Regions from separate parts of the Homo sapiens genome. Here regions 1 and 2 are each linked to region 3. The links are contacts of gene promoters, found by promoter capture Hi-C in blood cells and fetal thymus (Javierre and others, 2016). All regions are on one chromosome and are shown on one strand. The core of a region is centred on a gene start or on the middle of the fragment in contact, and the rest is flanking DNA. Distances in the headings are between cores, read along the strand shown.

Evidence for each region. The method cuts DNA at HindIII sites, captures the fragments that hold promoters and counts their contacts. A CHiCAGO score of 5 or more calls a contact.
Region 1: a fragment that was not itself captured here is called in contact with the fragment with the promoter of MKS1 in region 3 in 2 of 17 cell types (M2 macrophages and M1 macrophages); the score reaches 8.3 in M2 macrophages.
Region 2: a fragment that was not itself captured here is called in contact with the fragment with the promoter of MKS1 in region 3 in 1 of 17 cell types (M2 macrophages); the score reaches 7.2 in M2 macrophages.

What each region holds. Positions count from the first base shown.
Region 1 is chr17:58,436,265-58,439,266 of GRCh38, reverse strand. All of the region lies in intron 5 of HSF5 (heat shock transcription factor 5), which reads left to right. Among named protein-coding and RNA genes, the nearest start is that of RNF43, 20 kb to the right of the region's middle. The HindIII fragment of the contact is 3,086 bases long and covers 41-3,002 here.
Region 2 is chr17:58,456,257-58,459,367 of GRCh38, reverse strand. HSF5 (heat shock transcription factor 5) reads left to right here. Exons shown (of 6, transcript NM_001080439.3): 5 at 423-600. Among named protein-coding and RNA genes, the nearest start is that of HSF5, 31 kb to the left of the region's middle. The HindIII fragment of the contact is 2,581 bases long and covers 316-2,896 here.
Region 3 is chr17:58,217,780-58,220,824 of GRCh38, reverse strand. MKS1 (MKS transition zone complex subunit 1) reads left to right here and starts at 1,570. Exons shown (of 18, transcript NM_017777.4): 1 at 1,570-1,674; 2 at 2,096-2,205. The coding sequence starts at 1,595. It overlaps LOC105371841 (a long non-coding RNA gene), which reads right to left and starts at 1,511. Exons shown (of 2, transcript XR_934884.4): 1 at 766-1,511. RefSeq lists an enhancer at 1,463-1,742. The HindIII fragment of the contact is 11,285 bases long and covers 1-3,045 here.

The sequences.
Region 1 (3,002 bases), core at 334-2,833, 220 kb before region 3:
TGGCTTTCTTCCCTATTCAAGAATGGAGCATTAAAAAGCTTACAGAAGCTCTGTTGACAAGATTTGTCAACTGTTGGGCTTAGCTTAATGTTAATCAGCATGTACCACCAATTTTTTTTATTTATTATTATTTTTTTTTTGAGGCAGGGTCTCACTCTGTTGCCTAGTCTGGCACGATCATAGCTCACTGCAGCCTTGATCTCTGGGCTAAAGTGATCCTCCCACCTCAACCAACCTACCCCCAACCCCCCAAAGAAGTAGCTGGGACTACAGGCACATGCCACCACACCTAGCTGATTTTTTTTTACTTTTCAAAGAGATGGAGTCTCACTGTGTTGCCCAGGCTGATCTCCAACTCCTGGTCTCAAGCAATCCTCCCAACTTAGCCTCCCAAAGTGCTGGGATTACAGGTGTCAGCCACCATGCCTGGCCTTAAGGCACTTCTTAGTGCAACTTCAGGTTGGGGTATTGAAGCAGTTGGATTCATGACCCAGTTACTGAACTCTAGTCAATAAGTTGTCAACCACAGGCAGTCAAATATTCCCTTCCATCTCTGCTTGCACACTAGGTACCTCTAGCCTGAGTTTATCTCTTCTTTTAGGGCTTTGCTGAATGTGTCAAGAAATAGTCAACACCTTGTGATTTTTGTCAATCTTTTCCCCCATGGTTGTATGTTCACTTGGCATGTGTGGTCTGACTTCCATGGTGTCACAGGTAATGATTTTACCAAATATGTTGGCATGGATAACAAAGATCACCAACATTCTAGCTTGCTGTGTCCTAACCATGTGCTGCCTGACTGCAAAGCCAGTAGCACATATAATCATGTATCCCTTAATGACAGGAATGTATTCTGAGAACTATGTCATTAGTTAATGTTATTGTTTTATAAACATTGTGAATTGTACTTACACAAACCTAGATGATGTTGCCTACTACATACCTAGGCTGTATAGTATAGCCTATTGCTTCTAGGCTACAAACCCTTACAGCATGTTACTGTATTGAATATTGTAAGCAATTGTAATACAGTGGTATTTGTGTATCTAAACATAGCTAAGCATAGAAATGGTACAGTAAAAATAGAGTACAATCTTACAGAATCATCATCATCTATATGGTCTGTCACTGACCAAAATCAACCAATTATTTTTTTTTTTGGCAATTTGATTGGCAAAACTTTAACTGTTGATAATATCCAGCTTTGATAAAGGTATAGAGAAAAGGAACCTTCTCTATGCTGTAATTGGAATGTAAATTCGTATAGCCCTATAAAGGACAATTGGCATTATTTATAGATAACTAAAATGCTTATGAGTTTTGACTCAGGAACTCTACTCCTGGGAATCTCTCCTGTAGAAATGTGTATATTCCCAAAGGTACTCAAAATAAGTTTGCTATAGTGTTATTTATAATAGCAAAAATTTGAGAAAAGCATAAATGCCTGACAGTGGGGAACCAGATACATTATGACATCTACATAATAAAATACTGTGCAACCATTTAAGAAACTGAAGTAGCTTGATGTGTTGTGACCTGGAAAGACAGTAAGTGTTCATAATGTGTTCAGCAAATGGGTAAGTTGCAACACAATATGTCTAGCACAACCCCCTTTCTAGAAAGAAAGAAAAGAAAGTATATGCTGTAAAATTATAGAAAAAAGTCTGGAGATATACGATATAGCTGATAAATATAACACTAGTTATCTCTCAGAAGATAGAATGTATGGGTGCAGGGGTATGCTTAACTTCTCAATTTGTATATGTATATATAATAGGATTACGGGAAATTTTCACCATCTGTATTCTTCTATGTTTTTCAAATTTTAAAAAATCTAAAAATACTAAAAGTAGTTTAAATACTTGAAGTGTTCCTATAGCAGGAATATAAAAGCCTTAAAGTAATAGAAATGAACAATTTCAGAGTGTTTTTAAAAAATATTTATATCCCAGATAGTAAACTGACTTTTGAGGTTTAGATATGATTGACTCAAGATAAACTTACCCTATACCAAGAATGCCTTTCTAAGATTTCTGAGACTTTCTAGGGTTCACAGTAGCTTTTATTTTTGAGTTTCTGCTTAAATGTAATTCCAGACTTGTCCATATCTGACCTCCCAGGGCTGTTCTTATCTGTCTGTTCCATGCTATACCAGATGCAGAACTTGGCCCACTTTCTTTGACCTCTTCCTCCCTTTAAGCATTATGCTAGGCATGTGTATGTGTAGCACACTTTTATGAAGATGTCGGGAGGCAGAAATACCGACAGAAATATTTAGAATACCGCAAAAATGGAATTAAAAGGCCCCCAGTCACTTTACGGCATCTTTCCTTGTCACTAGTCAATATGGTCCTCTGCCATGTTGCTTTCTTTCCTTGTACTAGCACCAGACCTTCGTTTCTCTGCTTTCTGTTGTTGTTGTTGTTATGGTTGGTTTTTTTTTTCTGCTCTTTCCCCAGGTGCTGAATTCCTGTGTTTTACTTAGGCAAAGAAGGTTAGGTATCTCTTCTATTTTTTGATGTTTTTAAGGCGTCATTTTTCCCAACCAGAACAATCTATCGAGACATATTCCTCAACAAAGACAATTACCTCCCTGAGAGGAACTCTGGTGCCTGCTGTTAAAAAAATAATTTCCTCTCTTTCACTACATGTTATGGTTATAAGTGTAACTGATAAAATAATTAGCACAGTAATTATCTTTATTAACTCTTCCTGTTGTTTTTTTTTTCTAAGTAAAGCCTTATCCTTTGGTCAGTGCAGTTAATAGATGAGTCTTAATTGATGTTGGCTTCCTGCTGTGAAACATAAGAGTTGTGAAATCTTGGCATCATTATGACACCTAATCACATTTTCATTTTATTATGGACAAGAGGAAAATGAGTTATGATTAAGCTAGAACCTCTCTGCTAAAAAAAAAAAAAGTTTTTTAATTAAAGTGTAGGCAGAAATACAATTCATGAAGTTGCAAATGATTCTGCTCTGATAGACCTTGGCCTAGCAGT
Region 2 (3,111 bases), core at 357-2,856, 240 kb before region 3:
CCTACAAAAAAACTTTTTAAAAATTAGCTAATACCTGTAGTCCTAGCTGCTCAGGAGGATCACTTGAGCCCATGAGCTCGAGGTTACAGTGAGCTATGATTGTACCACTGTACTCCCGCCTGGACAACAATGTGAGACCCTGCCTTAAAACAAAAAAAAAAACCTGTACTTTTGTAAGTTAAAAAAAAATCAACAAGCTTCATGGTAGATATTCCTCTGATCATAAGTAAATGTTTTAGCTCCATATACATTTTAATAGTTTGTGTAGGGAGAAAGGTATAGTATCAATAATAAGAATGAAAAGCCTTATAAGCTTGTTTGTTGGATCATGTTCCCATAATAGAACTCCTCTGATAAAATATCTTAACTTTTAGCAGATATTTGGAGGAAATCTCAAATAATGAATGGGTTTAATATTTTAGGTGGATGCCAACATAAAATGCCAGACCAGTTCACGTGAGAATATCTTGCCGTCAGAACAGATGGGATTCCTCATTTCAGAAATGGGGCCTGCTAGCAAGCCTAGTGAAGACACAGGTTTAGCCACTCCAGCCAGATACAGAGAGCACAGAAGCAACTCACAACAAGGAAAGTCCCCTGGTAAGGATTATTGTGCTCTAGAATGCCAGAAGTAGAATCACGCTGTAGAATTAATATATGAATGACATTTTTTCTGGGTCTCCATTTATTATTCATAATTGTATTAGACCTGTCACATTGCTGTTTTTACATAGCTGTAATTTTAACTCTATATTTGTTCTTAATTATTGTTGTGAAGTATGTAATAGTTATTTTCTTAATATTGCATATAATGATTTGGGCTTTGAAAATATAGAACATATTAAGAATAAGCAAAGGAATTTAGATTATTTAACTTGGAGAAGGCAAGGATGAAGGATGATTTAATAAGTATCCTCAGATGCCAGACTTCGAAATTGTAGTTGTACTTACTCTGTTATTAACAGACTCTAGGACAAGAGGGCATGCATTTATATTGTGACAAGAGAAAATCAGATGGAAATTTAGGATATTATCCTGAGCGCATTTTAAAGATACTATAAAGTATGACCCTATACCAATGAATGGTTTGTTATTCTTGTGGTTTGTAAGAACCCAGAATAAGTGATTGTTTTAGGCACATACAGTTGATTCTAATAAGACAAAATCATATTTTTTGAAGAAATAGTAACATCTAATAAAACATGTGTCTCATATCATCCAAAAATCAAGTTACCAAAGTCTGCAGTGGACAATTTTAATATTCTAGAATTATGTTCATGTCAGGGGCATGCAGTGCAGGCAGAATGACAGTGTAGGTTAAAATGACAGACCATCATTTTAACCTACAATAATTTGAAAAATGTTGAGAACTTCTGTGAGAATTTTTCCAAAAAGTAAATTAATAGTGATATGATCATGGTGTAGCTCAGACTCATAGGGTTCTTTCTGCAAAATGTCTTTTAGGCTAAAAACTGTCTATCATTTATTCACTAAATTTAGCTTGCACACTTTTAGTTGATTATATTTTCCAATCCATAATTAAAGACTAAAGATTTCTTACCACTGAAGGTGTTTAACACAATGGCATGAGCCTTGAAGGCAATTTAGATGAGAGAAAGGCAGGAACTAACATTTACCGTATCCATTTTTGTGCCATAGGACAAATCTGTTGGAAGTGGCATTGTCATTTTAAACATCAGGAAATTTAGGCTTAGAGTAAGTAACTTGTTCAAAGTCACATATAAATTTGTTTTATTTTTTCATTTTTTAGAGACAGAGTCTTTCTCTGTTGCCCGGGCTAGAATGCAGTGGCGCATCTTGGCTCACTGCAGCCTCCACCTCATAGATTCCAGCAATTCTCATGGCTCAGCCTCCCGAGTAGCTGGGACTACAGGTGCGTGGCACCACACCCGGCTAATTTTTGTATTTTTAGTAGAGATGGGGTTTCACCATGTTGGCCAGGCTGGTCTTGAACTCCTGGCCTCAAGTGATCCACCCACCTCGGCCTCCTAAAGTGCTGGGATTACAGGCATGAGCCACCATGCCTGGCCCTTTTTTCTTTTCTTTCCTTTTCCTTTTCTTTATTATTATTATTATTTTTTTTTTCTGAGACAGAGTCTTGCTCTGTTGCCCGGGCTGTAGTGCAATGGCGTGATCTTGGCTCACTGCAACTTCCACCTCCCAGGTTTAAGTGATTCTCCTGCCTCAGCCTCCTGAGTAGCTGGGATTACAGGCACACTCCACCACGACTAGCTAATTTTTGTATTTTTAGCAGAGGCAAGGTTTCCGCCATGTTGGCCAGGCTGGTCTTGAACTCCTGACCTCAGGTGATCTGCCTGCCTCGGCCTCCCACAGTGCTGGGATTGCAGGCATGAGCCACTGCACCCAGCTGCCTTTTTTCATTTTTTATAGAGATGGGGTCTCACTATGTTGCCCAGGCTGGTCTTGCACTCCTAGGCTCAAGCAGTCCTCCTGCCTTGACCTCTCAAAGTGCTGGGATTATGAGCATGAGCCACCATGCATGGCCAGTCACATATAAACTAATATTGCTAATATCCTACCCTAAGTTGTCTGCCTGTAGAGCACATATTCTTTCCTTTTAATTTTTTATTGTGTTGAAGAACATGTAACATAAAATTTATCATTTTAACCATTTTTATTTTTAATTTATAATTTAAATATAATTGTACATATTTATGAGGTACAATGTGATTTTTTGACACATGTATATGTAGTGTAATGATCAAATTGAGATAATTACCATATCCATCACTCTAAACATTTATCATTTCTTTGTGGTGATAACACTCTAAACCTTTTCTTCTAGCTGTCTTGAAATATACACTACATTGTTATTTGCTACAATTATGCTACTGTGTAATAGAATACCAAAGCTTATTCTTCCTATCTAACTACAACTTTTGACCAACTTCTCCCAATATCCCCACTTTCCTACTTTCCCCAGCCTCTGGTATTTACTATTCTACTTTCTTCTATGAAATTAACTTTTTTAGCTTCCATATATGAGTAAGATCATGTAGTATTTGTCTTTCTGTGCCTGGCTTATTTCACTTAACATAATGTTCTCCAGGTTCACCTATGTTGCCAAAA
Region 3 (3,045 bases), core at 321-2,820:
AAAAGGAAACATTGGAGAGACAATTTCTTAGGAGCTAGAAAGGTGCCTTTTGTTTTATGTTAAAATTATTTCCGGCCGGGCGCGGTGGCTCACGCCTGTAATCCCAGCACTTTGGGAGGCCGAGGCGGGCGGATCACGAGGTCAGGAGATCGAGACCATCCCGGCTAAAACGGTGAAACCCCGTCTCTACTAAAAATACAAAAAATTAGCCGGGCGTAGTGGCGGGCGCCTGTAGTCCCGGCTACTTGGGAGGCTGAGGCAGGAGAATGGCGTGAACCCGGGAGGCGGAGCTTGCAGTGAGCCGAGATCCCGCCACTGCACTCCAGCCTGGGCGACAGAGCGAGACTCCGTCTCAAAAAAAAAAAAAAAAAAATTATTATTTCCCAGGTTGGAAATGTGTGCGTTTATGGAATAAATTGGTAGGTGAGAGGCTGTGAGGCAAACTGGAAGGTGGTTAGGCTTCAAAAGACAGAAGAACTTGGGCTAGAATCCCAGTACTTTTACCACTTGCAAGCTAGCAAGTCCTTTAAACCCTGGCCTTCACGAACTTCATTTTTAAAGTGAATAAAAGTACCTTTTTGAGAGGCTTCTACAAGGATTTGGGACAATGCAAACAAAAGTGCTCAAGCTGCACTAGATCCTAAATAAATGGTGCTATTTATGGTGAGTCGGTGTTACACAACTAGTGGCTATGGCACCCAGAGCTTCCAATGCCAAATCATCAAACTGGCATGAGATTCCCGAGTTCAGGGGACAATTGCTTACTTTGTTGGAGGAGGACTAGATGTGAACAAGGCTGATAAATGTTGACATTCCCAAAGTGCCGGGACGCCAGACGTGAGGTTACAGCATGTCCTTCCTTTGCTAGTACAACGAAGCATGACTTGTGAATGTCACTTTTTTGGCTTTTCAGGAAGCCAGTGCAGTAACAAAGTGGCTTAATGATCCAAAACTAACATACACAAGGTAAGAATCAGTTCAATAATAACATCGTTTCCTTCCTTACTGTTGACTTCCTTGTTTTTTCTTTCTTTGCTCAGTGAATATCAACACAAAGACTAATAAATCTTCTGACACTTTTTTTGTCTTCCAAGAATATATTTTCTTGTCTGGCTAAGGGCCATCACCTTCCCTGACTCCTTTGGGAATAATGGGTGCATTTCTTACAGTCACATCACCCGATTTTCAGGCCAAAGTTTTCACGCGTTGGGTGGAAGGCAGTGTGGCATGGTGGAAAAGGTAGAGGGCGAAGACTCAGGCCACCTGGTCCCCGTCATCATTTCTGCATCTATCTGTCTATATGAAGTGGGCTGATGGCTGTGCCAGTTTCCTCATTTGCACAGCGCACGAGGTCCCGCTTTCGGTGAGCTTTTATCGCATACATGGTAAGCGGTGATCGGTAGGACCCCGGAGCCCTCTTGGGCGTTCGGCTTGGGCTGCACTTGCACTGTGTGGCCAACTGCGACCGTGGCGCCGTGACGGGAACGGCGGGTTGCGCGCGCAGCACCTCCGTCGCCTCCCGATCCAGCGTCTCCGTTGCCAGGAAAACAGAGCGGCGCGCTTTCCGGCGCAGTCGCGGCGCGTCGCAGCTGTCATGGCGGAGACCGTCTGGAGCACTGACACCGGGGAGGCAGTGTATCGCTCCCGGGACCCCGTGCGCAACTTGCGCCTCCGGTAGTCGCACCGCCCCAGCCCCGAGGCCCCATGCTTTTGTGTCCTTAGATCATTCCAACCTGAGCTCGGTGTTCTGAGGTCCCCACTTTCTGCTTACAATCCCGACCACTTCTCCGGGCTCCCCACTTCTTTCACTATCCGTACCCCCATCCACTCACAGCCTCTAAGAACCCCTTACAGACCTACCCAAGTCCATTCACGTCTTTGTTGCTCCCAGTTTCTCAAAGCCCTGTGCCCCCAGTACACCCTCTCCCCTTCATTCTTCCCCATAGGACGGCGCACCCACCCACCTCCTCTCCGTTGTCTGCACCCAGCACACCTTGGCAACCCTACCTCCTCTGTTTTGTTTCCCCCATCCTTGCTTTGTGTTCATCTCCTGGTTGCGTGTCTGGTAACGAATATTTTGGGCTTTTCTTGACAGAGTCCACCTGCAAAGAATCACATCAAGCAACTTTCTTCATTATCAGCCTGCTGCCGAGCTCGGGAAGGACCTCATAGACTTGGCCACTTTTAGGCCTCAGCCAACTGCCAGTGGGTGTTACGGTGGTGATGTGCCATCTAATACTAATTATGATACTAATCAGAATTGTGGCCAAATGTAGTGAGATAACAAATACTATACTTCTGATATGTTATAGAGTTGCCCGGCAACCTACATTCTATTTGTGGCTTTTTTTTTTTTTTTTTTTTTTTTTTTTTTTTTGAGACGGAGTCTTGCTCTTTCCCCCAGGCTGAAGTGCAGTGTCGCTATCTCCGCTCACTGCAAGCTCCGCCTCCCGGGTTCACGCGATTCTCCTGCCTCAGCCTCCCGAGTAGCTGGGACTACAGGCGCCCGCCACCACGCCCGGCTAATTTTTTGTATTTTCAGTAGAGGCGGGGTTTCACCGTGTTAGCCAGGATTGTCTCGATCTCCTGACCTCGTGATCCGCCCGCCTTGGCCTCCCAAAGTGCTGGGATTACAGGCGTGAGCCACCGCGCCCGTCCTATTTGTGGCATTTTTAAAAGAGAAAACGTGCCCCAAACCCTAAATACACATATAAACACTTTTAAAAACAATTTTTAAACTGGAGACTGCTTGCAAAATCTGCATATGATGTGCATGTATAGATCAACTGTGTTCTTGTGGTTTTCCTTATCTGGGAAACCAAAAGAATGAGGAGGAGAGGACAGAGTGGTTGTTGTCAGGTCACTAGTCTGTTTGCTTTTATTGTTTCTCTTTCTGTTCAGAGCTGTTCCTGGGCAAGAGTGTGGGCTCACAGGTTGTGAAACGTGTCTCTGAAAAAGGCATACCCAAGAGTGTATTAGATTAGATTTGTTTTCTTTGTTTTTGTTTTCGTTTTGTTTTGAGACAGAATCTCATTCTTCTGCTCA